Linked DNA regions of Homo sapiens: region 2 is linked to region 1. Evidence: promoter capture Hi-C in 16 types of primary human blood cells and fetal thymus (Javierre and others, 2016). All regions are on one chromosome and are shown on one strand. The core of a region is centred on a gene start or on the middle of the fragment in contact, and the rest is flanking DNA. Distances in the headings are between cores, read along the strand shown. Region 1 holds the start of TLR7 (toll like receptor 7). Region 2 overlaps PRPS2 (phosphoribosyl pyrophosphate synthetase 2).

Evidence for each region. The method cuts DNA at HindIII sites, captures the fragments that hold promoters and counts their contacts. A CHiCAGO score of 5 or more calls a contact.
Region 2: a fragment that was not itself captured here is called in contact with the fragment with the promoter of TLR7 in region 1 in 3 of 17 cell types (total B cells, monocytes and naive B cells); the score reaches 7.5 in total B cells.

What each region holds. Positions count from the first base shown.
Region 1 is chrX:12,865,310-12,868,418 of GRCh38, reverse strand. TLR7 (toll like receptor 7) reads right to left here and starts at 1,347. Exons shown (of 3, transcript NM_016562.4): 1 at 1,296-1,347; 2 at 838-938. The coding sequence starts at 840. RefSeq lists enhancers at 300-419, 440-509. The HindIII fragment of the contact is 8,610 bases long and covers 1-2,583 here.
Region 2 is chrX:12,814,176-12,817,442 of GRCh38, reverse strand. All of the region lies in intron 4 of PRPS2 (phosphoribosyl pyrophosphate synthetase 2), which reads right to left. Among named protein-coding and RNA genes, the nearest start is that of PRPS2, 24 kb to the right of the region's middle. The HindIII fragment of the contact is 2,432 bases long and covers 422-2,853 here.

The DNA.
Region 1 (3,109 bases), core at 98-2,597:
CTTTGGCTTCATGTCCATCTTTGCATTGCCCAGTTCAAGCAGGAATCCTGCTAAGTCATTTTATTGATAATCCACTCCTCTTGGTATGTGATCACCCTCAATATCTGATCAAATTCCTCATCTCCCACCATCCACAGGTGAGGTCTGATCACCCTGGCCTGTCTTCAGCAAGAATCCTGTCAGGTCGGTTTAGCCAGAATCCTTTTACCCTTGATGTTTCCTCTTAGTAATTTTCCATCCACTGACCCCCACTCTACTCCTTGGCCAGAAATCTTTACTGGTCTTTGGCTGTATTTGGAATTGAGCCCCTTTCTATACTGAGGTCTCTTTCTGCCGATTGCAATAGTCCTGATAGTATCTTTATCTACTGTCCAAATTTAGTTTTCTTTGACAGCACTCAAGCCCGGGGATTTCCCGTATTTTATTGCTATGAGCCTGCCCACACACTTTCATCCACACAGTCATTAAGACAACACCATATGCTGGAAAAAGCACAAAGTAACTTCAGTAATTCAGTGATTTGTTATGGCTTTAAAGCCAAAATTGTAGGCTGAAGAAATGAGATACATAGAAGCTATGTCCCCAATTCAAACATCTGCTCCTCCTCCCCACAGCACATATTTAATTCTTGTAGGAAGTTGAACAGAGCAAGCGTTGATTAATCTGAAATTGTGACATGCCCCCTTCATTAATGCCAATTGTGAAATATCAGGAAGCACTTTCCCCCAGCAAATAACCTAAGTACAGATTCTTCAATATTGCTCTTGCCAGCTGGTTTCAGTTGTTTCCACAAAGATTACAGATAACACTTTTTAAGGTTCTCTGAGCTGTTCTTACCATTTTTAGTCTTCTTCCAAAATGGAATGTAGAGGTCTGGTTGAAGAGAGCAGAGCATGAGAGGTGCCAAGATCAGCTTGAGATGGGCCCAATAGCATCAACTAAGAGAAAGAGAAGACATCAAAGTTTACATTTCAAAGACAGCACAATACTGTAGCTTAAAGACATGCTAGGATCATTGCTTTAAAATGCGTTTGAAACATCTATTTACAGTATTTACTTCCTCAAAGTTAGGTAGACTGGAGACATATTCCAGAAAACCATTTCTAACGTTACTGAAAGCCTAACTTTATCTTTGAAGAATTGACATTTTAGACTACCACATTTTTTATTTATATTCTAAAAAAAATTTTTGTGCATATGATTTCGGTTCCCTCTTCTCTCCTCCCCACTTCCTTATAACAGCACATACATCTACCTACTTAAATTATCTATATGTGTTCCAATGTTTAAAATACCTTTCTTGATGGCATGGAGTGATCCTATATCTGGAGTCTTCTGAGATGAAGTGATGGGAGGCAGGAAGTGTAGTCACAAAGACTACAGGCAGCCAGCCCTGGAGTTTCCAACTACAAAGATCAGGTCGGGGGATGGGGAGGAGCATGATTATTTAAGCCACCCCAGATATGGGCTTTGCAAAAGCACGGGGTTCCTCTTATTTCTATCACCACTATTGGGGCAACGTCTTGTCTAAATCCAAACAACTCTGTAGACCAAATTTCTTTCGTTTTTATAGCAGGGTTTCTCACCCTCAGCACTATTTACATTTTTGACCAGATAATTCTCTGTTGCACCATAGGATATTTGGTAGCACCCTTGCTCTATACCCACTAGATGCCAATAGCACTGCCCCCTTCCAGTTATGACAATCACAGATGTCTCCAGACATTGCAAATTATCCCCTAAGGGGCAAAAACACCCCGGGTTGAGAACCACTGTTCTATAGATATATTAGAGACATATCTAAATTTACCTTATTCTGTCTTAGACCCAGCTGGAAAGGATGCTGGTTTTTAAGCAGTGGCAAAGCTACCAGTTGGTTCACTCACTTTCCTCTAAAAAAGTTCAGCTGCATTTGCTTCTCAAAGTGTGGGCCCCAAGAGAATTGTTCCTTTCTTAACTGATTATTGGACATTTTGTAGATAGAGCCAAAATATGGTAGTTATGTTTAAAGTTCTTTAATCTACTTAGTCCACCTGGAGAGAATTTGGATGATGTAGAGTGTGGCACGGGGACTTCTGCAGATAATGATCAGGGTTAACATATACTGGGCTGAAAACTCAATGGTGCAATAGAGCAGCTCAAAAACCAGATACAGTAATAAGTGACATTTATTGAGGGTTTTTTATGAGCCAGACACTGTTTTAATGACTTTATATGTATTATCTCATTAAATACTAAAACTATATAAAATAGAGATCTTATTACCCATTTTTTACAAATACTGGAATTTATAACAGAAGAAATATTGGATTTGCCTCAAGTCACATAGCAAGTGATACCCACACAGGCAGTAAAAACCAAATGTCTCCTTATTAAACCACTCTGCTATGCAACGATATGTAAAAATCAATAGTTTTCTCATACATAAATAATTACTGATCCAAATTGGTAATAGAAGAAGAGGTCCCATTCAAATCAGTGAGATCTGAAATGCTTTGGAAGAAAACTGATGGGAAATGCACAAGAACTAAGGTGGTGGGGGGAGGATGGGGACTATAATGCTTTACCTGGCAGGTGCAAGCTTTCTCTTTGCCCCACCAGACCCACTGTCTCAGCCTTTTATCCTGTTCTGTGTCTCTGGAGGCTGAGCTATATGTGCTTCATCAGTAGCCCCTTGCTCGCTGGCTTCTGGTTGGGTTTGGCCAATAGGAGGCCGTGGTTGGAAACTGAAGGGCAGGAAGAGGGAGAGCAGAGCCTGCCTCCCTCTGGCTCCCTCCGCCTGGCCCTGCGTTGGCTGCAGTCCTCTAATGAAGCTCTTGTTTGGTGATGCTCTCCTCCCTGAATTCCAGTAATCGTTCCTTCTCCTTCAGCCTGAGGTCGGAAAGACTCCCCTCTGAAGTGTTGCATCATCCTTTCTTACTTCCTTAAATCCTGTCCAAATATATAAATAGTCACTTTGCTGAACTCATCAGTTTCTCACTTTAACATGCCGTCTGTTTCCTGGCAGGACCCTGCCCAGACACAAAGATATAAGTAAATGAAGAGAAATAATTGTTATTGGGGCTAGAGGCCACAATATTGTAAAAATAGAAATGTTGCTTAAATTGAT
Region 2 (3,267 bases), core at 388-2,887, 51 kb after region 1:
AAGAGGGGAAAATAAGATTTTTTAATATTTCTCACTCATAAGATTTTTAAACTCTTAAAAATGCAATATCCTCTTTTCAAAGCACATGCCATCTTAAAAAAATCTTAGCAATGTACATTTGCACTCAAAGAAAAACATGGCAGCACCACTGTCTTCTGACAAAATTCTGCATAAAAAAACCCTATGCAACTTTTTGCAAATATGTTCCTTCTTTATTATTCAGGGACACCAAACCACAAACATTCAGTGCAATATTTATTGTTTTTTATTTCCGTAGGAAACACAGGACCAATGATGTCTTCTGACAACTGTTTCCTGATGATTTGTTGGGTTTATTGGATCTGAGGATCCTCGGATCCAATAAACCCAACAAATGAATTCCCAAACAATCTTAACAAAACTATAGAAGACCAAGAAAGCTTAAAAGAGACAAAGAATAAAGACAAGTCACCTAGTAAGGATGGCCAAGTCCTCAACTTCCCCAATGGAAGCCAGAAGTTATGGAGTCATATCTTCAATGTGATATGAGAAAATAACTCTCAGGCTAGGAGTCTATACTCAGCAAAACTGCCTTTCCAGAAGGAGAGCAAAATAAAGATAGTTTCAGCCAAACTATACAACCTGAGAATTTATTTCTAACATATAACCACTTAAAGAATGCAACTTAAGCAAAAGGAAAATCACCACAGATACATTGAGATGTGGTGAGGGGCAGGGGCAGAGAAAGGTAAGCAAAGATATTGATCAATATGTGGACAAATCTAAACAAATGTTGATTGTACAAAACCAAAATAATAATAATGTCTACTTTGTGGAGAAGGAAAAACTAAAGCATATAGTAGCTAAGCATGGTGGCTCACACCTATAATCCCAGCATTTTGGGAGGCCGAGGCAGGCAGATCACTTGAGCCCAGGAATTGGAGACCAGCCTGGGCAACATAGTAAAACCCCATCTCTACAAAAAATACAAAAATTAGCCAGGCATGGTGGCATGCGCCTTTAGTTCCAGCTACTTGGGAGGCTAAGGTGGCAGGATTACTTGAGCCTGGGAGATCGGGGGCTGCAGTGAGCTGTGATCGCGCCACTACACTCCAGCCTGGGCAACAGAGCAAGACTCTGTCTCAAAAACAAAAAAACCACATAGTAAGGTGGTGGTCATAAATCCAACTATGTCAATTATCATAAAAGAAAAGGGACCAAACTTTCCAGTTAAACACAGAGACTGTGAGATAAGAGAATAAGACATCAACGTCCTTGAAGCAAAGGGAATCATTACTATATTGAGGTCCATGTTTCTCCTACCCTTAGAACACTCATCCTACCCTTAAAACACTCATTCTTCAGGATGCAACCAAAACCACAGTAGCCCTAGCAGATACCCTTTGTTTGTAAACTTGTCTAGCTGTCAACAGTTTCCTTACTTAAAGATTTAATTAAAAAAATTAATTTAAAGGCCAACAAAAATTTTGCTCCATCATCACCTTAAAACACCTACAGTTCAGCCAGGCACGGTGGCTCACAGCTGTAATCCCAGCACTTTGGGAGGCCGAGGTGGGTGGATCACCTGAGGTTAGGAGTTCAAGATGAGCCTGGCCAACATGGTGAAACTCCATCTCTACAAAAATACAAAAAGTAGCCGGGCATGATGGTGGCTGCCTGTAACCCCAGCTACTTGGGAGGCTGAGGCGGGAGAATCGCTTGATCCCGGGAGGTGGAGGTTGCAGTGAGCCAAGATCACGCCATTGCACTCCAGCCTGGGCGACTGAGCGAGACTCCATCTCAAAAAACAAACAAACAAAAAAACACGTACAGTTCTATTATCTACATGCCAATGTCATAAAAGCCACTCAAACTCCAGGTAAGGAAAGCTACTTTCTGGGAACATGAGACAGGTTTTCCCAAGACACATGAACACCTCGCACAAAATGTCCACATACATTACCGTCTGCTTATTTGGTAACGACTAGGCAGATTTGGGCATGACAGGATACCAATCCACAGCCCAGCACTGGGAAGCACTGCCCTTTGTGGTGGAAGTTCTATACCGGAGAAGTTAAAGCAGAACCTGTTTTCATCTCTCTGCCAGGTGGCGCCTGTTCTCACGAGCCTGCTCACAAGCAGACAGCAGGGTAGGCATGGAAGTGGGACTGGGAAAGAAGGTGAGCTCTGTGGTTCTTGGCAGTGGGGGACACAGACATCTCACTTGAGTGGGGAGCCCTAGCCACTAAAAGGTATCCAATGGTAATGTCAGAAGAAGAAGATAAGAGAAAATACCCCTGCAAACAGCTTCCTGGGTTGTTAGAACGCTATGATTTCCTGAAAAAGCTATAGGTAACTCTTCTTTTCCTTGTATATCATGGAGACCTAATACATACTCCTAACAAATGATGTTGACACAACATACCACACTGAAATCTTAGGCAGAAAAAGGCAGAACGAAAATTATATACATACAGTTTTGGATTTCTTCTGGGCACATATTTACAATCTTTTCTCTGTGGGTGCATGTGCCATATCAGCTCCCCCAGGAGAGACAGATACATAGTACACCAAATTATTCATAGTGGCATCACTGGTTGAGATATAAAGTGTTAAGATTTTCTTCTTTCTACTTTCCAAATTTCCTATAGAGCATCTTCAAAGATTATGTAATCAGAAAAAAAGTTAAATCTGAGTTATCTAGTTTTACCCTCTTCCCATACCACTTTTAGGTTGACACTTGCTATCTCAGCAGTGGTAGGTAGGTTTCTTAGGTTTAATTTTCTTTCCGTGGTCAACCCAACCAAGCTACAAAGCCTACCCAAGAGTGACCTCCTGTGGCAACATTCAGTTTTACCCGGAACGAGTCAAGCTTCAAAGCTTTTTCTAAAGCAACAAGCTCCAATTGGTCAGACAGAAATTTACAGTATTTTATTTTGCTAACTATGACCTTTTGCATCAAGCAAAGAAGTCACAGATAATGTCAACTGCATATGTCATGTATTACCCGCAAGGCTGTTCTGAGGAGACTGTCAGTTGGGGGCTAGAATATGAGGATGACAATAATGTGTAGCAGAAACACTTGGAAAAGAGAAAGGAGGTGACAAAAATTCTGAAATGTACTTCCCTAAAAAGCTTGATTTTCCTGGCAGAGGGAGCAGGGGTGATTGAGTGCAGACTGCTTGAAAGGAGGTCTCAACAAAACAAAACAGCATCTCAACCCCAGCCATTTATTCTGTTTACTTTATTCTGCATTTTTTTAAAAGTAGGAGTTGGCAAATAGCTATC